Regions from separate parts of the Homo sapiens genome. Here all the other regions are linked to region 1. Evidence: promoter capture Hi-C in human tissues and cell types (Jung and others, 2019). All regions are on one chromosome and are shown on one strand. The core of a region is centred on a gene start or on the middle of the fragment in contact, and the rest is flanking DNA. Distances in the headings are between cores, read along the strand shown. Region 1 holds the start of MN1 (MN1 proto-oncogene, transcriptional regulator). Region 2 has its middle 9.6 kb from the start of LINC02554. Region 3 overlaps LOC102724900 (a long non-coding RNA gene). Region 4 has its middle 150 kb from the start of LINC02554. Region 5 has its middle 170 kb from the start of LINC02554. Region 6 overlaps LOC105372981 (a long non-coding RNA gene). Region 7 overlaps LOC105372981 (a long non-coding RNA gene).

The links. Contacts are between HindIII fragments. The study calls those that stand out against the background at their distance.
Region 2: a contact is called between a fragment that was not itself captured here and the fragment with the promoter of MN1 in region 1, in 3 of the 25 tissues and cell types used here (dorsolateral prefrontal cortex, hippocampus and mesendoderm cells).
Region 3: a fragment that was not itself captured here is called in contact with the fragment with the promoter of MN1 in region 1 in 1 of the 25 tissues and cell types used here (dorsolateral prefrontal cortex).
Region 4: a contact is called between a fragment that was not itself captured here and the fragment with the promoter of MN1 in region 1, in 6 of the 25 tissues and cell types used here (IMR-90 fibroblasts, aorta, dorsolateral prefrontal cortex and 3 more).
Region 5: a contact is called between a fragment that was not itself captured here and the fragment with the promoter of MN1 in region 1, in 3 of the 25 tissues and cell types used here (IMR-90 fibroblasts, dorsolateral prefrontal cortex and neural progenitor cells).
Region 6: a contact is called between a fragment that was not itself captured here and the fragment with the promoter of MN1 in region 1, in 2 of the 25 tissues and cell types used here (H1 embryonic stem cells and spleen).
Region 7: a fragment that was not itself captured here is called in contact with the fragment with the promoter of MN1 in region 1 in 1 of the 25 tissues and cell types used here (heart left ventricle).

Annotation. Positions count from the first base shown.
Region 1 is chr22:27,800,116-27,803,862 of GRCh38, reverse strand. It overlaps MN1 (MN1 proto-oncogene, transcriptional regulator), which reads left to right and starts at 2,107. Exons shown (of 2, transcript NM_002430.3): 1 at 2,107-3,747. The coding sequence starts at 3,320. The HindIII fragment of the contact is 23,630 bases long and covers 1-3,747 here.
Region 2 is chr22:27,299,203-27,302,949 of GRCh38, reverse strand. No RefSeq gene overlaps it. Among named protein-coding and RNA genes, the nearest start is that of LINC02554, 9.6 kb to the left of the region's middle. The HindIII fragment of the contact is 3,810 bases long and covers 138-3,747 here.
Region 3 is chr22:27,335,489-27,339,235 of GRCh38, reverse strand. It overlaps LOC102724900 (a long non-coding RNA gene), which reads right to left. Exons shown (of 5, transcript XR_430432.4): 4 at 2,974-3,139. Among named protein-coding and RNA genes, the nearest start is that of LINC02554, 27 kb to the right of the region's middle. The HindIII fragment of the contact is 5,238 bases long and covers 1-3,747 here.
Region 4 is chr22:27,458,265-27,462,011 of GRCh38, reverse strand. No RefSeq gene overlaps it. Among named protein-coding and RNA genes, the nearest start is that of LINC02554, 150 kb to the right of the region's middle. RefSeq lists an enhancer at 1-651. The HindIII fragment of the contact is 4,250 bases long and covers 1-3,747 here.
Region 5 is chr22:27,477,132-27,480,878 of GRCh38, reverse strand. No RefSeq gene overlaps it. Among named protein-coding and RNA genes, the nearest start is that of LINC02554, 170 kb to the right of the region's middle. The HindIII fragment of the contact is 6,915 bases long and covers 1-3,747 here.
Region 6 is chr22:27,506,270-27,510,016 of GRCh38, reverse strand. LOC105372981 (a long non-coding RNA gene) reads left to right here. Exons shown (of 6, transcript XR_938124.2): 2 at 1,072-1,268; 3 at 2,048-2,207; 4 at 2,732-2,843. Among named protein-coding and RNA genes, the nearest start is that of LINC02554, 200 kb to the right of the region's middle. The HindIII fragment of the contact is 3,173 bases long and covers 203-3,375 here.
Region 7 is chr22:27,527,314-27,531,060 of GRCh38, reverse strand. All of the region lies in intron 1 of LOC105372981 (a long non-coding RNA gene), which reads left to right. Among named protein-coding and RNA genes, the nearest start is that of CPMER, 190 kb to the left of the region's middle. The HindIII fragment of the contact is 7,230 bases long and covers 1-3,747 here.

The DNA of each region.
Region 1 (3,747 bases), core at 858-3,357:
TATTTCTTTGTGCCTAAATCAGCAAAGCCTCAGTCTTTTCTCTGGCTCTCACTTCCCTGTCACTTTGCTAAGTAATAATTTCCATGTCCAATTCCATTTCTTTTCTAGTTCTGAAACCTCTAAGCTATCAGCAAGAGGATAGTTCACATGAAAACTAATTACACAAAATCAATATTTAATCACAGACCAACAACCTGATCCTGCAGAAAAATCCTTTAAAAACTCCACCGCCCTGTACAAATACTTATTCCCTATGCTTATTTATGGACCCCATTTTTGATGGGGGTAATTTTCATTTTTAATTTCAAAAAAGAAAAAATATATATGTCTGTAAACTTCCACAACAGGAAGGCCCCGGGAAAGGTCTTGGATCTGAGCTTGCTCTGGCTGAGTTTTAAAGTTGTTGTTTTTTCTTGTTTGTTTATTTTTAATTAAAATTTTTTTTGGGCGGGGGGCAATTTCTTAGGAATTCTGCCGCTACCCCAAAGTTGAGCCCATTTCCCCCCACCCCCGGCATGTCGGTTCTGGCATACTTAGCACTGCCTTCCTAGCCGCAACTCAGGGGAGCAATGAATCTGCGCGTACGACATGGTAACTTTTTAACTCCTGCCCGCGACGGTGGAGTGCTTAATCTAAGGTTTTTAAATAAAAAGGGCTCAGGGGTTGGTTTTATTATAACGTTTATTTCATTTCAGATTTCATGCGTAATTTAGCAAACGCTAGACAGACTCGGGCGATAAACACTTTCTTTTGTGGGGGGGGAAAGGCATTTTCATACACCACGCTTAATTTTATTTAGATTTAATAGCGATATCAGGGGCACTTCAAAGAAAGTTCTTTTTTCGCCCTTCTCCTAAGAATGCGAATCTGCTAGCAAAATCGCCTCGTGCTATTTTATGGCAAGGAAAATTAAAGGCCTTCTCCCCCCTCCTTCCCTACACACACTTTAGGGAGGAACACACACACACACACACACGCATGCACAAACACACGCACGCAGGCGCGAGCACACGCACACAGGCGCACAGAATAAACACCTCTATCCTCCATCACCTCTAACTTCCAACTTCTAATTGCAAGATAGATTTCAGCCTCTGTGGGGATCAGGACGATCTAAACATTTTAACTAAGATTATTGGGATAAATATTTCATAAAGAGCAGGGCAGATATTAAATTACTCCTATTGATTTTAGTATCACAGCCCAATTCCATTCCTCGGCCTCTTCAGTTTAATTGATCTCTTAAGGAGGCCAACTTCGCACCCGCAGAGGGTCTGGGTCTTGGACCGGGTGGCCCAGGGCAAGGTGTGCGGCCCGGCGGGTGCGCCCTCTTCGTGCGTGTCTTCTCGGGGTTCCCAGCCGCCTCGCAAGTCGCTCCGGTTACTGGGCTCAACCGATGTGCTCCCCCATAAAGTGGCTGAGTGACTGTGACTCCTTGGAGCCCACGCCGGCCGGTGAGAACCGGGAACCCCAGGCAGTGGGGAAGGGGAACAATTGTGAACGCCCTAGTGACGGAGGAGTGAGCAAGCGCCCAGGTCTCTCGAGGAGAACCCTAACTTCGAGGTTCCCCGTCTGCTTTACCCTCCAAGAAAATCCCAGGGCCGGCTAACTTGGGCGCCGCTAGCGGAGAACGGAGTGTTCACCCCGGAGCCGAAGTGCAGTAGACACTTAGCGACTTTCCGTGGCGAGTCTAGGGTCTTTGCCTGGCGACCTCATTGTCTGAGCGCCCCGTACCGCTCACCGCCCACCTCCCCGCCCCCTGCCCACCCGGTGGGTCTCGCTCCAGTTGGGGGTGGGGAGTTGGGAACAGTGTGAATGGGAAGGGGGTGAACAAAGCCAAGCTCCCGCCATTCTCCTCCGCCTGCACCCTCTCCAGCTCGATGCGCCCGGAGGCCGGGGCGCGCCCCCAGCGCACTGACGCCGGACCCCGAGGAGAGGCGGGCGCAGGGGACCCCAGAGCTGGGGTAGTGCGGGTTCGTGGCGGGGGCTTCGGCAGCCAGGACCCCGGACCACCTTAAGAGCGAGCCCCGCCCCGAGCCCGGAACTTGGGCGGCGCTGATTGGTGCAAATGTAATGGCTGAAATTGATTGCTGAAATGCAAAACTTGTTGCTGCTTCTCCCGGCGCTGGGCGAGAGGCAGACACAGAGAGGGGAGCCGAGACCCTCGGAACGCCCCACGCAGAGCCCCCCCGCTAGTCGGGAGAGGGGTGCGCAGACCCCCCAGAGCTGCCCCCGCGCCCCCCTCCCCCCATTCCGGGCTCTGAGAGCGCAGCGGGAACGCCTTAGCCTGCTCGCCCGGCGTGGCCCCCCGACCCGCGTACGCCCCCCTCCCTCAGGTCCGAGAGGGACTCGCGAAGCACCTCAGCGCGGAGGCAGGGAACCGGAGCCTTGGAGCGACCCAACCCCTCGTCTCGCTGCCCTCCCGCGCCTGCAACGGTGCGCGGAGACTCCGGCGAACTCAGACACCCAACGGCGGAGAACAGAAGCGGCAGGCGGCGGACGTGGCCGCGAAGCTGCGCGCCGAACGCAGCGCACCCGCTGCCGAGCAGAGGAGCCGCGCCTTTCCCCGACCCTCGGCTCCAGCCCCCGGCGCCTGCCGCCTCGCAGCCCCTCTGCGTCCTCGGCTCGGGGGCCGGCACCGGCGATGCCGAGCGGAGCCTCCAGTCCTCCGACCCGCTGAAGAAGCAGCAGCCGCTCGCCCGGAGCCTACGGGGATTGTGCGAGCGGATCGTGCTCGGTGGAGGCTCGGGCTGCGGGGCGCGGGGACTCCGGGGGGCGGGGGGAGGGACCGCTCTGTCGGTGCCCGGCGCCAGCCGCGGCTTTGAAGGGTCTCCCTCCCCTGCCCTTAGCAGCTCTGCCACGGACTCCGGGAGGCTGCGGGCGGCGTCCTGAGGGCTCCCCAGCAGACCCAATCGGACTTGAGAAGGTGATCGCTCTGCTCTCCCAACCCCCTTCCCTCCCCATTCCCCCCACTTAACTTTTTGTCTCCGTTCATCCGCGGCTTCGTCCCCTCCCCGCAGACCCACCCGCGGCTGTGACAACCGCCCGGGGCATGGGCCCCCCAACACGGCTCCTAGAGGCCCCGCGGCCTCGCAAGATGTGAGAGGCCCTCCCCGGGCAGAATCGGAGCTTCAGGAGAGGAGCTAATACCCCGCCCCCCGTCCCTCACATCAGGCGGGGTGGAGGTGCGCGCTGAGCCCCCGCGGTGCTGAGCGTCCCGGAGCGCCCAATCCTGGGCTGGAACGAGTAGCTGGCCGGAGGCGCGCCGCGGAGAGCCGGCTGTCATGCCCTATTGATCCCCCTCTGCCCCCCGCCAAGTATGTTTGGGCTGGACCAATTCGAGCCCCAGGTCAACAGCAGGAACGCTGGCCAGGGCGAGAGGAACTTTAACGAGACCGGACTGAGCATGAACACCCACTTTAAGGCCCCGGCTTTCCACACTGGGGGGCCCCCTGGCCCTGTGGATCCTGCTATGAGCGCGCTGGGCGAACCCCCGATCTTGGGCATGAACATGGAGCCCTACGGCTTCCACGCGCGCGGCCACTCGGAGTTGCACGCAGGGGGGCTGCAAGCGCAGCCTGTGCACGGCTTCTTTGGCGGCCAGCAGCCTCACCACGGCCACCCGGGAAGTCATCATCCCCACCAGCATCACCCCCACTTTGGGGGCAACTTCGGTGGCCCGGACCCCGGGGCCTCGTGCCTGCACGGGGGTCGCCTGCTCGGCTACGGCGGCGCAGCCGGAGGCCT
Region 2 (3,747 bases), core at 793-3,292, 500 kb after region 1:
GGGTGATGAGGCAGAGAAGTCAGGATGCCTAGCCAAGCCGCCAGTCTTTGCAGACTCGGAGGAAGAGGTGGATCACTAAGAATGCTAATAATGACCACAGCTGCCACAACGGCAGCTTCTGTTTGCTACATACAGCCTAGTACCACACTGCACGCTTGACGTGCTAGATCTCAGTCATGCCCCACCAGGTTTTAGGAGGTACAGATCATTGGGCCCATTTTACAGATGAGGAAACTGAGGCTCGGGCACATTCACTTGCTGGCCTTAGTGTGCATCGTGTTCCGTTACCACCTTGGGGACTTGGCAGTTCCTCCCTACTGAACAATCAACACGTGAATGAAGCCCACAAGCCCAGTAAGACGTCTCTGAGACCCCCGGACTGGTTGGGGCCTCCTCTGGGCTTCAGAGGCCACAGACTCACCCAGTGGAAAGTAAAAGTACTTCCCACGAAGCTTCCTTTGATACCTGCTGAACTTGTCAGCCTGGAGCCCTGGTGGGCAGACTGGGGCTTTGACAAACTGGTCCAGGGCCAGCGAGGTGCCTGGTGTGTGGTTTGCTCAGCAAATATTCATTACATACATCATATGCTGGTCAAGCTGAGAGGACAGAGTCTTTGCCCTCGCAGAGCTCCACTGACCATTGGACACCTGGTTTACGGTACAGCTGAGCCCAACTCAGACCCCAGGCTCTTTCCTCTGCCCAACTTTTAGCCAAAGCCAAGTTTCAGAAGATGGCGCCTCTCTTCTCCCAGGTATTCAGGCCAAAACCTTGGAATCATCCTTCCTTGCCTTTTCCAGCTTCTGGTGGCCCCAGGAGTCCCTCACCTTGTGGTCGCATCTTTCCAGTCTCTGCCCCCATTTTCACATGTCTGTCTCCTCTTCTTCATGTTTTTGTGTGTTCTCTCCTCTTCTTACAAAAACACCCATTTGCTTGAGGCCAGGAGTTTGTGACCAGCCTGGACAACATCGTGAGACCTGTCTCTAAAAAAAACCCCGATATTGGCCAGGCGTGGTGGCACGTGCCTGTAGTCCTAGCTACTCGGGAGGCTGAGGTGGGAGGATTGCTTGAGCTGGGGAGGTCAAGGCTGCAGTGACTGTGATCATGCCATCACACTCCAGCCTGACGACCTGGGTGACCGAGGGAGACCCTATCTCAGAAAAAAAAAAGAAAAGAAAAAGAAAAAAGAACATGAGTCATTGGATTTAGGGCCCACCCTAATCCAGCGCAACCTGATCTTAATTTAATTACACCTTCCAAGACCCTGTTTTCAAATAAAATCACATGATGAATTTCCAAGTTGATGTGACTTCAGGGGGCGGGAGGGCACTATTTCACTCACTACAGTAGGGATAATTTTTTTTTTTTTTTTGAGATGGAGTCTTGCTCTGTCGCCCAGGCTGGAATGCAGTGGCGTGATCTCGGCCCACTGCAAGCTCCGCCTCCCGGGTTCACGCCATTCTCCTGCCTCAGCCTCCCGAGTAGCTGAGACTACAGGCACCTGCCACCACGCCCGGCTAATTTTTTTGTATTTTTTAGTAGAGACGGGGTTTCACCTTGTTAGCCAGGATGGTCTCGATCTCCTGACCTCGTGATCCACCCGCCTCAGACTCCCAAAGTGCTGGGATTACAGGCGTGAGCCTCCGCGCCCAGCCCAGTAGGGATAATTTTTTAGGGTAAGTCAGCCAGCCCTGGATTTTATCTGCTGGGGCTAACGTCCCAAAGATCATAATAGTGGCTATAATATATGTAGAAAGCACCTAACTCTGTGCTAGGCCCTGTCCCAAGCATTTCTATATGTTACCTTGCTTCATCTTCAAAATAACCTCATTAGTTGGCACATTAATCCCATTTTGCAGATGAGAAAACTGAGGGCCAGAGAGTGATATGCCCAAGGTCACTGAGCATGTAAAGGTTTCCCAGTAGCGATCAGCACTGACCATAGGCCCTGACATTCATATCTTACTGTCTGGAGCCAGGCTAGGGCAGGCAGGGCTGTCACTTGTCCCCACAGCCCACGGAGCCAGATGCCATCTTGATGAAGGGAACAAGAATGGATGCCATGGGTGCAGAGCCATGGGGAGGGGGCATTGCCACCCGGTGGGCGCCCAGCCGCCCTCCCAGGCATAGCTCCTGTCGCTGCTGCCTGGGCCTGGCGCAGGCAGCCCGCAAGTAAACAGTGTCTGAAACCTATTCTCATTAGGCTAATTTACGAATAAATTACCATATTCAATGGCCTTATTTTTACTGCTCGTTAACAGGCCCGTGATAGGATGATAATTACGGGATTTTAAGTGGCTAATGGCAGCTGGGGCGTCAAAAGCAGTTTTTACGAATCTGTTTATGGCAGCGAAGGTGACAGGAGGGGAGGGACATTGAAATGTTGAAATCACACTTTGAGAAAAAAAAGCTTTAATTGTTGAGTATTTATTAGAGAGGAGGGAAGGCTGTAATTTAAAAAATGAAACTCTGAAAAACAAAGGAAATTAATTCGTCTTCCCCCCTGTGCTGTGACCTTCAGGGAGGGGGCGAGGGGTGGGCAGGATCCCAGGAGAAGGGTGCCAAGTTCAGGCATGAGTCTGGGAGGGTCCTTCCTGGTTTCTGCTGCCCCTGCAGGGAAGGCATCCCGGGGCCTGCGATCTTGGCTCAGAGGCCCCTCTGGGATCCAGGGAGGGATCCCTGAGAGAGGTAAGAGCCCAGCAACCCGAACGCAATGACAGTGTGGGCATTTGATTCATTCTTTGATCCTGATAATCGGGATCAGATCTCATCCATTCCAGCTCCCCTGCTAATATTTTACATGCATTATTTCATCCAACTCTTGCAAAAATGTGGAGAGCTAGTAATTATTCCTAACATATACTGAGTGCTCATATATGCTTTCTGGGTATTAATTCACTTAAACAGATACCCTCGTGGGATTGGTCACTATTGTTATCCCCAGTTACCAAGGAGAAAACTTGAGGCACAGAGAGGTTAAGTAAGCTGCACACAGTCACACAGCGAGGGCCCGGACCAGCATCCGTCTGGCCCTGCTTCTTTTATCACCTCCCTCTCAGTGAATCCCTGGCTAGCTGGTGGGGTGGGCTTAGGGCCCCAGGCGACAGAGGAGAAAGCACAAAGCCCAAAGAGGTTAAACCGTGTACCTGGAATCACAGAGGCTGAGTTCAAAGGTCAGCCTCTCTGAGTCCAGACCCGCCGCTGACTTGCCTTGAAATGGGACTCATGAGAGTGGAGGTGAGGAGAGGGCATCTTGGAAAAGGACGCCGGACATTTTGGTGGGGTGATTTCGGGGCCATTGCCCCGCCCTGTGAGCTCTGTGGGTGCCTCTCCTGGGTCCGGCCTTCTCTTCCCCACCTGCCTGGCCTCCTCCCTGCCGTCCTCGGCTCCTCATCTCCCGGCCACTGGGCCGATCCATCTCGCTCCTCCGCTTTAGTATGCAGCCCTCGGAAAACAAACACGCAGCAGCCTGACAGTGGGAATAAATATCGTGGCGATGTTGATTAGCATTTGATCCCAGCTGGGTCTCTGGGAGCTGAAGTACTGGAATGTCTTGGCAGTTTTTTAATGCTGAATAATTTGATTAGATCAGTGACTGAGCCTGCTGCTCCTGGTGAGATAAACCCTCCCCACATTACAGGGGAGAGAGGGGGTGGACCGAGGGCGCGCATCTGAGCCCCCAGACTTCCTGCTCCTCCACCAGCCCTCCCGGCAGCGTCGTCTGCGCGGCCTCCCCCTCCCCAGCTCGGC
Region 3 (3,747 bases), core at 319-2,818, 460 kb after region 1:
TCTAAAATTCAAAAGAGGGCTCAGGGAAAACAAAGACTGCTTCATGCTCAATAGAAGCTTGGGCCCTGGTTGAAGTGCATTGTGGTTTTGTTCTATGAAGTCAGGAAAAGAGAATGAGATAGAGGAAACAGCAACAACAATATCTAGCTACCATCAGTTGAGTATATCCAATGTGCCAAGTACTGTGCATGCCATTGAATCTTTATGACCTTAGCAGTGGGTGTGATTCTCATATTCACGGGGAAACTGAGGCTCCAAGAGGTGAAGTGACAGGCCTTTGGTCATAAAGTGGGTAAATGGTGGGGCCAGGCAAAGCCAGCTCAACTGATTTGCAAAACCTCTCTCTTCTCCTCCATCCCAGGCTGTCTCTGGTCCCATTGGTTACTCCCTTCCCTCTGCTCACACATTGTCTTTGTCCATGAAGTATTACTATAACAGAATGCCTGAGACTGGGTAATTTATGAGGAACAGAGATTTATTTCTTACAGTTCTGGAGAATGGGATGTCTAAGATTGAGGGGCTGTATCTAGTGAGGACCTTCATGCTGTGTCATTCCATGGTAGAAGGTGGAAGGGCGAGAAAGAGTGAGAGAGCAAGAGATTAAACTTGCAGCCTCGAGTCAGCCCTTTTATAATTGGCATTAATTCATTAATGAAAGTGGAGCCCTCATTAAACACCTCCCATCAGGCCCCACCTCCCAACACTGTTGCATTGGGGATCAAGTTTCCAGCACATCAACTTTGGGGGACACATTCAACCTGTAGCACCCACCTATTAGAAATCTTGGGCCAGGTGGGGTGGCTCATACCTGTAATCCCAACACTTTGGGAGGCCAAGGCAGAGGGATCACCTGAGGTCAGGAGTTTGAGATCAGCCTGGCCAACATGGCAAAACCCCGTCTCTACTAAAAATACAAAAATTAGTTGGACGTGGTGGTTTGTGCCTGTAGTCTCAGCTACTTGGGGGGCTGAAACAGAAGAATCACTTGAACCTGGAGGGCGGAGGTTGCAGTGAACCAAGATCGTGCCACTGCATTCCAGCCTGGGTAACAGAGTGAGACTCTGTCTAAAAAAAGAAAAAATAAAAAAATCTTGGCTCATACCCTTTCAAAGAGCAATTCCAGCAAGTCTGTTTGGCCACAGCCCTTCTGCTCTTGTACCTAATTGGTTGGTCTTTGGAAAATGGAGTGACCCCTGAGAAGTCAAGGTGGACTCTCAGTAACAGCTTGAGCCTGGTAAGTTAGGAGACCTTTTTGAAATTGGATTGCAACCATATGAGCTCATGTGACCCATGGGAGAGGACTTGGAGGAGGGCTAGTGGTAGTGTTGGTGACATCAGGACCCCTCACACACGCTGGCCCTTTGCACATGCTGTCCCACTGCCTGGAATCTCCTCCCCGCACACCTCATCATTCTGAGGTCACAGCCTCACCTTCTCACTCTGGCCTCTCCTTGTTGCCCCCACACCCATTCTCCTCCCCTGCCTAGTTTCCTTCCATATTACTTGATACTTTCTAGAGAATTATATATTTTCCTTTATTTCTTTGATCATTGCATATATAGACCATAGTTTACTCACTTGGCTTTTACTGATGGCCAGTTATGTTTTTGGTCTTTGGCCAGAAGGAGCATCCTTATGCATATATCTTTGTCCACCGTGCAGTGATTTCCTTAGGATGAAAAAGTCCCTGGTGATGGAATTGCTGAACCAAAGATACCCAGTATCTTTCTGATGTGGTACCTTATGACTTAATATCAGCTGTTCAATCCAGAGGAGGCCTGTTAAAGTGAGTTTTTGTATGGACTTTAACTAACCACGCTTTGACTTGCTCTCTTGTTAGGAAGAAGTGTGGCCTGAGCCTAGTGCCATGGTTGTCAATTGGAGCAATGCGCACAAATCTTCACTCCTCCCTGAAACCACAGTCTTTACCATGTGATTTTGCAGAGCCCTTCAACACTGACTCTGGACCACGCACATGACATGCTTTGGGCAACAAGATGTCAGCTTATGGGATACATAGGCTTCCAATATGCTTGTTTGGATGGGCTTTCTTTCTCCTGCTCCTTGCCATCACTGCAAGACGTACATGCGTAGGCTACCCTGGAGGATGAGAGATACATGGAGCAAACTGAGATGCCAGAATCATTCCCACTGAGGCCAGTCTCAATCAGCCAACAGCCAGCCAAGCCCTGGGCATGAGTAATCCCCAGCAAGATCAGCAGAACCACCTGGCTGAGCACCCTAAATGCACAAGCAATGCAAACTTATTGCTGTATGCTGCTGAGGTTTTGTGGTTTTTTTAAAAAATGTAGCATCAGTCAATTAGCATAAGTCAATAGATAACTAATACACAAGGCATGACAGTGAAACCAATTTTCTCACTGCTCTACCAATAGTAGGGGCTTTTGCAGTCATCCTCTGCAGGCCTGGGCATATTCTAAAATAACTCCATTGGTATGCACATTTGTAAAAATTTTTATTCTGCTCATCAGCTGGGGGACTTGCTACTGCTTCTTGGAAGAGGCAGAGCCCTAAGTAAGATTTTTGAAGGAGAGAGGAGGTTGGAAGAACTTGAAGGTATGCAAAGTGATGAATGACGTCAGGCTCATGACCACTGAGTTGTGTTCTAAGCTCCTTGCCATCCAGGCTTACCCCGCACGGTTAGGGATTTCTGATGAGAGAAAGCAAGGGAAGTCATCTACAAAGGCAAGTGTTAACCTTGAAATAAACTTGCATGGGAATTTACCGTGTTAGTTACCGGCATGAAGGACACAAAATAACAAAGAGGGAAAATTTATCAACCACAGTTTTGCAAAAAGCCATGCAGTGGTGTGGTTAAGAGACCTGGTTAGGGCATCAGCATGTCTTGGCATGAATCCCAGGTCTGCTACTAATTTTTGTGACTAGGGACTGATGCTATAACCTCTCCGGATCTCCTTTCCTTGAATGCACAGCAGGGGTAAAAGCACCTACCTCGTGTGTGCTCGGTTGCAGACTTAGAGTCCTTCCTTGGAATGCTTTGCTCTGCTCTTCTTGGCTTGTTGGGCTCCCCGAGATCTCCCTGGAAAACATCTTCTGCGCTGGGTGTCCCCTTTTTATAAATGCTCCCATGGGGAAAGTTCTGATTCATCCACTCCAGCTAAATGGGTGAGACTCAGAGGGATCAGATGGAGAAGCTGGCTTTGGGGAAGCCTCACACTCTTCATTAGTCAACAACAAAGATAACAGCTACCAGGATTTGAGCACTTACTTGGATTATCATAACAGCCCTATGAAGGAGAACCTGTCATGATCACTCCCATGTTACAGGTGAGAATTTGAGCCTTGGAGAGTTGAGTCATCTGCTCAAGGTCACACAGCCAGTAGTGCAACTCAGGTCTGCCTAAGTCTGAGAGGTATTATCCAAGACATATACCAATATACCATAGATCTAGTTAGAAATGTAGTTGCCCTTAGAATAAGAACAAAAATACCTTTCAAGCAAATCTCATCCAGAGCTCAAAACGTAACATAAGAGATTTGAGCCCATCTTAGTGCTCTTTCTTCTAGGCTTATTTCTTTCCCCTCTAGAAGCCTTTGGCCTTGCCGTTGCTTCCATGGGCAGTTAGAATAGGCTAAGCTATTCTGCAGTAACAAAGTAATTCCTGAATTTTAGTGACTTCAGACAATTTTTATTTCTCACTTATGCTACTTGCTCCCCAAGAGACAGCTGAGGTGTTGCAAAGCGCTGGCTTCAGTCAGAGGTAG
Region 4 (3,747 bases), core at 443-2,942, 340 kb after region 1:
GCGTCTCTGTCTTTCTCAACATTTCTGTCTTGTGTTGGTCCCTGTGTGTGTCTCCTTCAATGTGTCTCCTTCTCCCTGCTTTCTGCCCCTGCATCTCTGCCTCAACATCCCCACTCAATTAGAAGAAGCCATCTTGGCCATCAGCTTCTGGGCCCTGTACACACCAGTGTGAACTTTCTCTTCAATGTTCTGGGTCCTGGCTTGTGCACTGATGGGTCAGAGGAATGGCTTAAGGTTTCAGAGCTGCTCACATCACGACACACCTCCCCCAGCTCCTCCAAGGACTCTGCTTGAGGAAGAGGCAAGTGTGACAAATGAGACCAGAAGCCCTGGGAGTCAGCGTGGTTCCCAGGGCTGGGAGGAGAGACTCAGAGTTAAACAATGCCTGCTGCATAGCAGGCATTCCAACCTCATTCTCCAGGAGCTCACAGTCCTACAGAGTACACCCATCCCCAAATATCAACCACCCAGGCAAGGTGGCCAGGACCCTGATTGCTGAGGGCAGACCGGTTTTAAGCCAGACTTGAGCCAGAGCAGGGTTCAAATACTGTTGGTGCCACTTACTAACTGGGTAACCCTGGGCAAGTCACTTAACCTCTGAGTCTCAATGTCCTCATCGGCAAATAGAGGTAATGGCGACACCTGCCTCGTGGGTCAATGTGAGGATCAAATTATTTAAATTATGTAAGGCACTTAGAACAATGACTGGCACATAGTAGGCATTCCAGTAATATTAGCTTTTATTATTACTATGAGAATCATAAGACAAATGAACTACTATTATACTTCCTACCTGGGTTCGGGGGAAAGGATATTTTGGTTGGGGTTTTGAGGAATGAGTAGGAGTTTGTCAAGCTTACAGAGGAACTTCCTTCCAAGGTTGGTGGTACAACATGAGTCAATGTCATTTTATAGATGAGAAAATAGAAGTCCAGAGAGGGGAAGTGGACCTTAGTCATAATTACAAATCCCAAAGAAGAGTGTGGCAAACCTATAGGTTTATGTCAATGGTCACTCTGATCCTGGCCCTGCGACCTCAGGAACAAAAGGGTTAATGGATTGTTTCATTCTTGTGGGAACACAATGGTCTCTGCTTCTCTTGCTTCTATTCAATGTGTCCCTGTTCCCTAAGCTGTGAGCACAGAGTCAGCCATCCCAAAGACTGGGATAAGGATGGACCTGGAGTTGCAGGGACAGCCAGCCACTGGCAAATCTACACAGCCCTTTCTCCAACTGAAGCATTCTTGGCCCGAAAGCAGCTTGCAGATGCTGGAAGAAATGAGGAAAATGTTCCTCGGATCAGCTGATTGGTATTTAGATCTCTCCAGATCCAAAAGTCGCAGCCTCTTGGCAGCCCAAGTGACTCCGAGATGCTGCCAGTTTGCTTGGTCTTTGAGGCTTCTTGGAAGAGTTGGTAGTTTTCTATTTTCTTTCTTTCTTTTTTTGCTTTCTTTTTTCAGTCTTTGAGGCTGCTTGGAGAAAGCTGGTAGCTTCCTATATTCTTTTTACGTTTTTTAAAAAATCTTCTGTTCTTTCCTTTCCATTATTTCCATGCAATGAGGAAAGCTCAGGTAGTAGGAAATGGCTTTTTCGTTCTCTTTCAGCGTAGGGTACCCTCTTCAACCCTTGAGGTCTGTCCACACTCCCTTATGTCAGAGAGACTCTGTGGCGTTGAGAAAGACCACACTGCCTGGGTTCAGATCCTTAGTAATGATTGTGGCAGGCAGGTTCTGATGTGGCTGTCAATGGTCCCACGTGCTGGTATTCACATCATGGTATTCCCTCCCTTTAACTGTGAGCTGGACCTGGTGACTTCCTCCTAAAGAATAGAATACTGCATAAGTGCTGACATGTTAATTCCGAGATTAAGCTAAAAAAGACCATGAATTCCTTCTTGTTCTCTCTGTCTCTGCCTCTGTCTCTCTCTCTCTGTCACCTGCACACTTGGAAGAAGGAAGCTGCTACATTGGAGATGCCTGTGTGACCAGGAACTGTCCCAGTTCCTGCAGGACCCTCAGTCCTACAATCTGCAAGAAATCGAATTCTGCCAGCAAGCAAGTGAGTGAGTTTAAGTCATGTCCTGTTCCAGCCAAGCCTATTAGGATGATACTGCAGCCCCAGACCTTAATGGTAGACTCTGAGAGACCCTAAAACAGAGGAGCCAGGTAAACCTCGATGGCTGACCTACAGAAATCATGAGATACCCGTGCTGTTGTTTCAAGCATCTCTGCTTTGAGGTAATTTGTTACTTGGCATAGATAGTGAATACAGTGACCTTGGGGGAAGTGAGTTCTACCTCCCCATCTGTAAAGTGGGTGCAATGATGTCTGAAAAGTCAGCAGGAAATAGGTGCGGGGTCTGGTGCCCAGGAAGAGTTCAACACAAGAATATTTTATGTCTTAGTTAACAAATATTTCCTAGACCAACCCTGGGTCCTGTGTCAGGTGCTGGGGGCTTGGGGGATGACACAACAATGGTAGCCCTGCCCACATGGACTCAAAGTCCAGTGCAAGGGAGTCATGCAAAATTAAGTAGGAAGTTTCATGAGTTCCTGAGAGCAAATGCCAGGGAGACCTGGCCAAGGCAGGAAGGGCTTCCAGAACAAATGGTTTACATGGAAACTGAAAACGATAAGCTGCTTTTAAATGGCTGGAGAGCCAGCCATAAGCCAGTCCTGCACCCAGGATGTGTGCTGTCTAAATATGGGCTTCCCTAAAACAGACCCCAAGACAGGGATGTGAAGGCAAGTGGCATTTTAGGGGGATAATCCAGGAAGCACTGGTGGGGAAGGAAGGGAGTGAGACAGAGAAGGGAAAGAGCCTATCCAGGGTGCACTAATGAGCAGGTTATCACGTTGAGCAGCTGGAACTCAATCCCACTGGGGAAGTCTGAGAACCAGTGTAAAACACACACCTCAGTTATCTACCCAGGGAGCGAGGGAGCTGAGATATTTATCCTCCAACTCCTGTCCATCACTGGAAGGGTGCTTTTGGAGCATTAACTCCTGGTGCTTCTGACCTTGCCCTCATGCACATCATCTGAGCAAAAGTGCTGGTAGGGAGTTGCAGGTGCTTGCTGTCATGTGCATTCAGCATGCACTGGGATGGTAAGTTTGGGGTATATGCCCACAGAGGCACTGTTTGCATCTGTACCACGTGCAAATCCACAGCAGGGTGAGATGAACAGAACCTCTACTCTGACAATGATAAGCTTTAGCATGATTCCTCCCTGCAGGCTCAGCCCTTCCCAGAGTCCCCACGCCACCTTGGACAGGCATTAAAGGTCATTCCTCAGCTCCTTCCCACAGCCTGACCTTGGCCTCCAATCCTCTCAGAGCCTTGGTCTGACCACAGGACTCTTGTTTACTACCAGAGCTTGTCCCTATTTTGCCCCCCATCCCCATCACTGATGGTTATCTTGGTTACCTGCCTGATGCCTCTTACACTGGGCCCCACATGACACCCCTGGAAATCCCCTCCAGAGTGTTTTCAACCAGATCCAGGATCCTGAACTTCAAAGTATCATCCAGATTCATATCCTGTCATCACCAGGATACATTATCCAAGTACCCTTAGGAGCCTCTCACCTCTCTGAGCCTCCCTGTTTACCCAGAACTGAGGATGGTGAGAGGACCAACGAGCTCATTCCCTTCTAGAATCAATCTTTAACACCAAACTGTGCAGCACTTCATGGATGCCATAGGTACAGCATGGACCAGAGTAGAAATGGGCACTGCCTCATGGAGCT
Region 5 (3,747 bases), core at 520-3,019, 320 kb after region 1:
ATATCCCCTCTGCCTCCGCCCCAATGAATCCTCTGGTTTATCCCAGGGGGCCCCCCGGAGAACCTGAGACAGCCCAGCTGCTCTGCAGACCCAGCGTGCCCCGTGCTGGTCTGAGGGGCACAGCAAGGCTGGCTGCAAGTGCAAACAATGGGCAGGACAAAGAACCCTTTGTGCTTTTCCTCCAGCCTCAGCAGAGCCTCAGGACTGGGCCTCTCCAGTTACAGCACCCGAGGGCTTTCCCACTCGGCAGACGGAGCCCTAGGGTAAATATTCCTCCCAGGATCACCTGTCAGGCATGGGGGAGGGTCTCCTTGGAGCAGGAGTCGCCACAGGCCCAGTGGTTCATCCCAGCCTCCCAAACAGCGGCCCCACTGGGGATGGAGGGATGGCCCCAGTGGCGTGGTTGGAAGCAGGGCAGCTGATCGGGATCCTGGAACACCAACCGGCCAAGTGACCCAGGCAAGCAGCCTTGTGTCTCTCAGCCTCAGTTTATCTGGAAGATGAGGTGATGGTCATGCCTAGATATCCCGTGGGTAGACTGTGGTGAGGATTCAAAGAGATGATGCCCATGAGTGCCTGGCTCAATATACGGTACTTTTGAAAAGTAGGGGAGAGTGGGAATAAAAAAGGTCCAGCCACTTTGGAAAACAGTGGGGCAGATCCTCAAAGGAATAAACATGCGGTTACCCTGTGACCAGGCAATTCCACTCCTAGGTATCTACTCAAGAGAAGTGAGAACACATGGCCACACAGAGACTTGTACAGGAATGTTCACAGCAGCGTTATTCATAAGAGCCAAAGTGTGGACGTAACCCAAATGTTCATCAATAGTCAAAGTATGGTCCACCCATACAATGGGGTATTATTCAGCCTCAAGAAGGAATGTCACATTGACACATGCCACAACATGGATGAACCTTGAAGACATTATTCTAAGTGAAGGAAGCCAGACACAAAACATCATGTACTATATGATTCCATTTCTATGAAACATTCAGATCAGTGCAATCCATAGAGACAGAAGGTAGATTTGTGGTTTTCAGGGGCTGGGGGTGTGGTGGGAGGATGGGGTGATAGCTGAGAGGAACTGAGTTTCTTTGTGGGGTGGTGGAAGTGTTCTAAGCCTGACTGTGGTGACGGTTTCGCTCATATTGTGAATAGACTAAAAATGATTGAATTGTGTGCTGTAAACGGGCAAATTAAATAGTAAGTGAATTATATCTCAGTAAAGCTGTTTTTCTTTTTCTTTTCTTTTTTTTTAAAAAAGCTTTTAAAAAGCTGTTATTTAAAAATAAAAACTTAAGAAGAGGCTCCTGGCAGAGCCAAGACCAGAAGAGTATAAGCGGAACGAGAAAGGAAAAAGGAGGTTAGGAAGAGAGGGAGGAGATAGAGAAACGTCAGGATGGTGACAGGGGGCTGGGGAGTCAGGCCCCATTTCTCTGTGGGCCCAGCCCCTGTGCCTGTCTCCTGGGGGGCAGACAGACTCCCAGTACCGCTGCTGCCAGGGGAGTTCAGTAGTTCCTGCAAGGAGGGAGTCGGGGGGACTCCGCAAGGATGGCTCGGCCACCTGCTTGGTGTGGGCCTCTGGTTAAGCGCCTGAAACACACTCAGCCTCAGCTCCTCACCTGGAAACGGGGGCTTGTGACCACTGCTTCACACAATAATGGTGAGGCTTGAAAGAGGTGGAGGGGGTCAGTGTGCCTGACATGTAGTAAGTGCTCATTAAATGATGGGGGGAGGGAGAGGGAGAGAGAGAGAATTTTATTGACTTTATTTCAGCAGCATCAATTATCTTTTCCCGTACGTTCCACCCAAAGTCTAAAGAAGCAATGAGGATAAAAGGCTGAGAATTAGGGAACCTAAATTCCTGGCTGTCACCTTACGGCCTTGGGCCTCAGTTTGCCTCCCTGCTGTTTTCTTCTTCCTTCTTCCTCCCTCTCCTCCTCCCCACCGTCCTCCTCCTGGTCCATTGTGCCATGCACTTGGCAGTCAATACCAGGTTCTCGCCCTCCCCTCTGCCTTCCTGGGTGTTGCTCCAGGTGTGTCACAGGTGCTTAGACATAGTCATATGAGGCCCTGGACTCAAGTCAGGAGGACCTCCCCAGTCAGGGAGACACCTGGCCTCCGAGCAGTGCCCTTGTCTTCAACTTGGCATCTGTCAGGGGCTGGGACCATCCTATCCCTGGAAAATCTACCCACCCTCTAGGCAGAGTTCCCCAAGTAGAGGAATCCCCATTGCCTTCCTTTCTGGACCCCCTGATACAGCTGCAAAAAAAAAAAAAAAAAAAAATTTCCCATCCAAACCAATCCAAACCAAACCAATCCAAACCAAACCAAACCAAACCAAACCAATCCAAACCAAACCAAACCAAACCAAACCAAACCAAACCAAACCAAACCAAACCAATCCAAACCAAACCAAACCAATGCAAACCAAACCAAACCAAACCAAACCAACCCAAACCAAACCAAACCAATCCAAACCAAACCAAACCAAACCAATCCAAACCAAACCAATCCAAACCAAACCAAACCAAACCAAACCCATCCAAACCAAACCAATCCAAACCAAACCAAACCACACCAAACCAAACCAATCCAAACCAAACCAAACCAAACCAAACCAAACCAAACCAAACCAAACCAATCCAAACCAAACCAAACCAAACCAATCTGAACCAAACCGAACCGAACTGAACCAAACCAAACCAAAATGGCCCAACACCAAAAAAACAGTGACTGTTGCTTTGAATGCTGCCATTGTGTTGTGTATTTTGAAGCCACCTCTCAAGTGTTGTCTTCTTCTTTGCTGGAGCCACATTCCGACTTGGGACACTCCAACCATCCCCTGTTGATCTGAATGAGATGGAGTCTCACTCTGTTGCCCAGGCTGGACTGCAGTGGTGCGATCTCGGCTCACTGCAACCTCCACCTCCTGGGTTCAAGTGATTCTCCTGCCTCAGCCTTTCGAGTAGCTGGGATTACAGGCATGTGCCACCACGCCCGGCTGATTTTTTTTTTTTTTTGTATTTTTAGTAGAGATGGGGTTTCACTGTGTTAGCGAGGATGGTCTTGATCTCCTGACCTCGTGATCCACCCGCCTCGGCCTCCCAAAGTGCTGGGATTACAGGCATGAGAGACCGTGCCCGGCTGCTTGTGAGTTTAAAACTCATCCCTGCCCACAGGCAAGAGAGGGCACAGAGAGGCAGATGAAGCCCTTTGAGGATCAGGTCAAGGAGAAAGTGGCTCCTGGCATTGAATTCAACCCCAGGGGCTGGGTGGGTGTGTTTTCAAAAAAGCTCCTTCCCAGCACTCTTTATCTATATTTTTACCTGGCTTAGATTCAGCGCCTGGACCTTTGAGTTTTTCCCGATAGGTGCTGGGTCTCAGAGCTTCCCCCGGAGGGGCACTGTCTGCTGATGGAAGAAATGTGTGGAGCCCAGGTTAGCCATGATGTTGCCGAGGGCGGTGGACAGGCCTGAGGGCCATGGTCGCAGCTCTGAAGGGCAGCAGGGGTGGGACCACAGGGGGAGCTTTGGATGTGGGGACAGCCTGGGCTAGGATGGCAAAGACTGGTATGTCCAGGAGTCACACACCGGAGGTCCTGGGATGGCTGGACTCAGCCCCAGCCTCCCATTCAGAGGCCATCCTTGGCTCCTCTGGCTGCCTCATGAAAGACAGCCCCCAGCCCAGGCAGCATCTCCTCTCCCCTTCCCCCACCCCTAATTCCCCTGCCCCAGGTCAGCC
Region 6 (3,747 bases), core at 540-3,039, 290 kb after region 1:
CTTCAGGACTTTTATTGTGGCAGGTCTTGTTCCAAGTCAAGTGCTTTTCATGTATTATTGGATTACTTTTACTTTGAAGTGTAAATCAGCCAACACGGAGTGCTTACTATGTGCTAGGAGCTGGAGATGCAAAAATGAATCTGACATAGTCCCACCTGCAGAGAACTCATGATCTAGTGCTCACAGGCACGTAAAAAAAAAAAAAAACAGTTATAGTGCAGTGAGATCAGAGAGCCGTACAGTGCCTGGCACCCAGCTGCCTTTGAGGGAATGTCCAGCAAATGAATGGAAGCAATGTTTGTGATAGAGACAAGATAAAGTTGCTGCAAGAAAGCAAATTCCCATTCTCCTTGGGAGATTAGCAGAAGGTTTCACAGAGGAAATTATACTCTGAGCTAAGTCTTGAAGAAGATAAAGTGTTTCTCCAGGTGGAGAAGGGAGGAGGATGTGGCATGTATTTTAGTGCTTCACCCACATTGCTCTCAGCACAAAATGTTTCTATGTGCACCTGGCCCATTCCAATGGCCAACACCAAATGCTCTTTGTCTGAGGGTTTTTCTGGTCACCAGAGTTTGTTTGGTCCTTGTGAGTGGTAGGCAGAGAGAGGCTGGGAATTAACACTCCCAGGAAGCCCTCAACTGCTAACAGATGGAGTTGTTGTATCAATACCCCAGCTCCCTCCCCACTCAGGTGGAATAACATTGAGATGTATATTCTGCAGAATCTCCCAATGTTCCCCAGTGGAATTGAGCCCTAGTTGCCCATGGTGGTAATTGCCATAGATAATGCATCCTGTATGGCTGGCTTCTTCCTTATCTCCTTTTCCCACTCTTCAGCAAGGGCTTTCTGCACATTCCGAGTAAACTGCTGTTCATCTGGGGGCCAGCTTTTGGGAAAATCCAAATCAAGACAGTGAAAGAAGCATGGATCACCAACGTGACACATTCCTGAAATGTGATGAGTGATATATTGTCAATGATTAGGCTAGGTATCCATCATCACTGGCCATTCCCATTCTGATCTGGTTTGCAACCAGCCCACTGGGGAACATCATCAAATCTTATTTTGCAGGTAAAGACTCCAAAGCTCAGAAGAGTAAGTTGACTTGCTCAGAAACACAGAGCCAGTGGTTGTGTGGTGCAGACAAGAAGCCAGGAGTCTGTGATTCAAGGCCAGGAATACCACCATGTCTTGCTGTATATCTTTCAGGACTCTGTGACTCAGTTTTTCTGCAGGTTACTGTATGATTCTCTGGAGCAGGGTACAAGGTATGTTTCCACTGTGTGCCTCCCCTGTCCCTCACCCACAAGCCATCTTCTTCCCTTGGGGCAGCTGACACATCTCACAGGCCCTTGGAACAAGGTCGGGGACAGCCAGGAGGGTGTGTGTGTGTGTGTGCGTGTGTGTGTGTGTGTGTAGGGGGGTGGCTAGTTTTGTGCCAGCAGCAGGTGCTGCTGTGCAAAGAGCTCCAGCCCTGCTGGATGGGGCCTGGATGCTGGCTTCTCTGAGTAGTAAGCAATCAATTGATGAAGTGTGGTTGAGTGCATTCAAAACGCTTGGGGACAGTGGGGCTGGGAAGATTCTCTATAGCATGATAGTATTTGAAGAAGCCAAAAAGAAGAGTAGGAACTTCCATGAGTAACAGGTTGGGAAATTTCCAAGGGAAGCTGTAATGGGCATTTGTCTTTTCCCCCCTCCTCTCTGACTAATTTGTTGCTTTGGGATGCATCACCCCTCTCTTATTCTTAGCCCTGGGGTTGGGGTTAGAGTGAGAGTGGAACTCACTCTCCACTGCAGGGAGTGCCCTGATTGGCTTATACCAGTCATCATTTTCCACTGTCAAGTCGTAGTGATTGGTTCAAGGCTAGACCATGAGAGCCCATCACAAGCCAAGGAGATGCAAGAAGGCATCTGCTGGGATTTCTAGAAAAGAGACGCTTCCTCTTTCTTCTACTTAAGAGTGAGAAGTAAAGATATAATCTCTGTGATAGATACGGTCAAATTGTTACCAGGTCAAGAGACTCTGGAGCTTCTGTGTTCCTTATAGGAGACACCTTGAAGCTTGCTGGATGCCTCAGAGGGAAGTGAGAGAGAAACAAGCACCAGAGAAGGCAGAGTGAGGAAACAGAGAAATTGGGACTTTGGAGACATTGTTTGAGCTGCTGGACCAAGCCTTGCCTGAAAGCAGCATATCTAGACTTCAACATGTAAGTTAATATATTTTTCTTTTTTATTGGATGAGGGTTAGGTTTATTGAGGTATAATCTACTCATGGTAAAATCCACATTCTTCAGTGTATAGTTTCATGTATTTTGACAAACACATATAGTCATATAACCACTACCACAAATTGGAATATCAGACAGTTCCATCAACCACTCCCACCCCATCAAATGTTCTTATAGCCCCTCCCTGTCCTATGTTTTTAAAAAAGATTTTGGCTTAGGCCAGTTCAAATTGGGTTTTCTGTAATGTGCATACCAAGTGTCTGACTAATAAAAGTCCCCAAGATCACCCCCTCCCTCCTTTCCTTCCTAGCCCCTTTTGGAAAAGATTAGTTAAATGTTTACCATGCCCCAGACACTGTGCTAGCCCCAGCCCTCAGTCCCACTCCTCTCTCCAGCAATCAGATTGGGTATCCCCATTTAGGTTTGGAGGAGATGACTGCCAAGAGAATAACCTGGTTTGCTGGAGTGGGGCTGCTGGCCAAAATGCTGTTTGTTCCTTTCAGCCCCACTCTGAGGAGCTTCTGGGAGAGTTGGCTAGGTCTTTCCCAAGCCTGGGAAGCAGAAGCCGGGGCAGATTAACAATGCCAATTACTAAGATCCTGCAGTCGATGAAAGGTTGGTGTTTTGCAGCCACTTCCTTAGCTGGACAATGAGGGAGCTGACCTTTCTGTGCTCAATAAACCAATTGCCACTAGAGAGTAGGTTCCCTGGTGACCAGGAACCAAAAGCCAAGTTGCAGATATCATTTCTGGGGGGTGGTGGCAGGGGGAAGGAGAAAGGAGATAGGTGCTGGGGGTTGGGAAGCCTGGGTTTCGATCCTGCGCCACTATGTGGCTTGGGGCAGTCACTCCCTGAGCACTTCTGCACTTAGTAGGCACCTGCTGTGTGCCTGGACCCTGTAGACCAATGTCATTTGTGGTCATCTTACAAAAGGACTCAGGGATGCAGAGGAGGAGACTGCAGGATCACTTTGTCCAATCCTCTGGTTGTACAAGTTGGGAAACCAAATCCCAGAGAAAGACTTAGCCCCTGAAGGCTGCCCATGGGACGGTCCTTCCACAGTAACCTGTGCATCACACTTGGTGGTTTACAGAGCCCTCTCTGACCCACTCTGACCACAGTCTCCCCACCGTCCCCGAGGAGACTAGATCTGGAAGAGGATATTTCTTGGATCTGGTCACCTGGCAGAGATGAAACTCTGATGAGAGGCTGCCCATGCTTCACCTGCCTCCCTCCCCCTGAAGCACCTGATCCAGGGTTGGCCTGCACCAGGAGCACTTTCCTTCTCCCAGGAGGAGATCTGCCCTTCTCTAACTCCAACACTTTGTTAGAACCCTGAAGGTAGAGGAGCCAGACAGACCTGGGTTTGAGTCCTGACTTTGGCACTGATGGACTGCGGGACTCTGCCCTTTACCTTAAGATCTCAGGCCGGGTGCGGTGGCTCATGCCTGTAATCCCAGCACTTTGGGAGGCCGAGGTGGGTGGATCACGAGGTCAGGAGATGGAGACCAGCCTGGCC
Region 7 (3,747 bases), core at 883-3,382, 270 kb after region 1:
GAGGCTCAACTGGAGAGAGATCTGCTTCCATGATCATGCAGATGATTGACAGGAGTTAGGTCCTTGTGGGTGTAGGACTGAAGACTTCAGCTTTTTCCTGCCTGTTGGTCAGAGGCCACCTTCAGCTCCTAGAAACCCCCACATTTCCTTGCCACATGGGCCTCCCAACATAGGCAGCCTACACCTTGGCAGCTTGCTGCTTTCAAAGCTGTCAGGAAGCAAGAGATTCCAGGAAGATGGGTGCTATAATCTTAAGTATGTAATCACACACATCTTGTCAATTTGCTCTATTTTGTGGATTAGAAGCAGGTCACAGGCTCTTCCCACATGCCAGGAAAAGGGACTGGCTACATAAGGGCATAAACATTAGGAGAAGAGTCTGTCTGCTGCAATGGCTCACTTATTCATTCAGCTAGTATTATTTTTTATTTTTCTTTCATTTTTTGTAGAGATAGGGTCTTGCTCTGTGGCCCAGGCTGGAGTCCAGTGGTGCAATCACAGCTTGCTAGAGCCTTGACCTCCTGGGCTCAAGTGATCCTCCTGCTTCAGCCTCTGGAGTAGCTGAGATTACAGGTATGAACCACTGCCCCCATCTCAACTAGTACTATTGATAGTAAGCAAGATAGATGTGGTCCTGCCCTCAGGAAACTTCTATGGAGCAATGCGTGGATCCTGTGTGTGGGGTTGGGACAGTCCCAACTCTGATCTTGCTGTGAGACTTTTGGCTTGACATTAGCTCTCTGGGCCTCCCTTGACCTATTTGACCAGTGGAATGAATACCACAGAGCTATCCCTGGCTCAATGGTGATGTGAGGGTCCAGTCATCATGGACCCTCCATCATTTATCAAGTGGGTATGGAATACCAACTACTAAGCCAGTGCTTTACCAGTGCTGTCTCAACCCTTACCACAGCCCATGTGCAGGGACTTTAACCCTGCTGTTGGCTGTGACCCTCATTCTGCTACCCACAAGAAAATACGTGCAAATGGCCTCTGGAAGGAGTCGGAGGATGCCCTACTATGTGTAAAGAGGAAGTGGGGCAGAGAAGGAGTTAAGAAGACAGGTGGTTGTGATGGAGACCTGCTGTGAGACCTCTTTGAGGCCTTGGCCCTGAAAAGAAACGTCTCCAAGCATCAGTCTGACAGACATCTCCAGAACAAAGAGGATACTGGTTCCTACCTCATGGAGTAATATGATGGTTAACTATGTTTATGAATAGAAATTCTCAGAACCATGAGAACATGGTAACTACTCAAAGAATGGTGGCTTTTGTCATGAAACACCTACTGTGCACTGGCTCCGTGCTGGGATGTTTTATACTGAGCCTGCCGGCCTTCAAGGTGTGAGGCTCTGAGATGAAAAAATGTGGCCTTGGGGTTGAGAGCAGTGATAAAACCTGGCTGTGAGCTCTCCTGGGATGACTTTTTGGTAAAGACAGAGCCTTCTGGTGGCAGCCAGGGAATGTTCTAGGTACCTGACCCTGAACAAACGTCTTGCCTGTGAGGCCCCTCCTCCTGGCACTCAGGCTAAACCTAATTTATGAATGAACCCATCCCCAGTACCTAGTCAAGTGTGGCCACAAAAGGCCCCACAGGAATTGCTGCTCGGGGCAGAGGACTCTGGTCTTCTATGAGCTTATCAGGCTCCTTCTAGGTTGAGCCATCCATGGCTTCCCAGTGCCCTTGAGAAAAGTGCAGAATCCTGCCAGTGACTTGCAAGGGCCCATGTGAACCGGCCCCTCTGGTCTCTGAGGCCTCATCCTCTAGCTTGGTCTCTCTGGTTTTCTCTGCTTCAGCTGTTCTAGACATCCTTCCCAGAGCTGCAATCGCCTGACTCAGGGTCCTTGTGTGCGTTTCTCTCCTTCCTTCCCCTGGCTGGCTCTCGTTTACCCGAAGTGCCTCTTCCATGTGGAAGCCTCCCCTGACCTCTGTATTAAGTCTCACGCTTTTGATCCCAGAACGCTCTGCCTTCTCCTCTGCAGCAGGTTGCACACTTGGACTCATATAAGTGATCATTTGGGATCATTTGTTTGCTGTTTCCCTCCGAAGCTGTGAGTGGCATGTGGGCTTGTTATTCATGGTGTCCCCAGGTTTGGTACATCATAGGTGTACAGTTAGCATATGTGATGGAGTTGATTGGGTTCCTCTGATGGCCAGAAACCACCCCAGTTTTCCCTGCTTGGCAGCTTATGGTGTCAAATACACTCTGAATGTCAGGGTAGCAGGACCTCAAAGGGTGGCAGATCCCACTGCCTTATCAACAGATGGGGAAACTGAGGCATGGAGCAACGAGGTGATACACAAGTTTGGGAGTCAGGCACACATAGGCTCCTATCCCTGCCCCATCATTTAGTCACAGTTCATGCCTTAAAATACGTTCATTTCGTAGTCCTTAAATATGCAACTGTGATAGGATCCTTATAGGAAATTGGAAAAAAATACAAAAGCTATATCTAAAAAAAATCTAAATCTGAACATTATTGCCTCCTAAAACTTAAACCCCCCAGTTCAGAAGTCCCCGTGCCAGATATAGCAGCCCTAGGGCAAGCTACTCCTTTTTATCCGCAAAGAAAGCCCTCTTCAGTTCCACCATCCGGGGCTGAGTACCCCTCATGTGGAAGTACTTCCTTCCAGTCTTTTGTTCTAGGTCTAATTTTTTGCATAGATGAGACCTGCTGTTGATGTGTAATGTTTTTATTTCCTTCTAATGACAAGTCTCCCTTGAAGATGGGGCCCACCTTCTGTATGTGCCCAACTCTCAGGGCCTAGGACAGAGACCCACACGTATAGGTATCAGCAAGCATCGTCTGATAATTGAAGGAATGCCAGAGAAAAAGGGATCCAATCACAGATGACTTTTGGAAAGAGGCAGCCTTCCATCTGAGCCTTGGGGAAGCTTCCCTGGATGCAGGAGAGGTGGAGGCACTTCCTGGCAACTTCTGGGCAGGGCTTGGTCTGAACTTTACCAGTCACTGGGTATCCCCCTAAACATGTACATATCTGTTTTCTCTTTAAGGTAACAGAGGATGCTTTTTGGAAAATGCTATTTTCCAGCACAATCACTGCTGGATTGGCAGGGTGAAGTTCGAGGCCACGGTGGAGTTTAGAAGTAGAACAAGCACTGGCTTTTGAGTTGGGGGGACCTGGATATGCATTCTGGCTTGGCTCAGTCTGGCCATGCAGAGCTGTCCTCATGGACACCACATCGGGCCCCACGCTTGACCTAATGCTCGGCTGTTGTCACCTTGCAATTCTTGATAATTTTTGAACAAAAGTCTCCATGTTTTTATTCTGCGCTGGGCCCCACAAATCACGTAGCTGCTCCTGTGGCCGTGGGAACGTGGAAAAGTCATTTAACCTCCCTGGGACCTTAACTGTTGATTTGAAAAGGAAGATAGTCCTCTCAATCTCACAGTGCTGCTGTAACAATTACAATTACAATCTCATATACAGAAGTAATTACTATAAATTGCATTGACTGCACACGTGCTAAGTGCTTGACACTGATGACTCTCTCCCAGTCGCCCTGTGAAGAAGGGGGTGATTACCATGCCTGTTTTATAGATGAGGAAGCTGAGGCTAGGAGTGGCAAAGTTGCTTGCAGGATTTCAGTGGTGGAGTCGTGAATTCAACACTATTGAGAACCCATTGGATGCCCAGCTAGAGCCTGCTGCTTGCCCACAGGGCTGGTGAAGCGGGTGCATGGCCAACGGTGGTTGCACAAAGTAGGTGATTGGTAGGTGCACA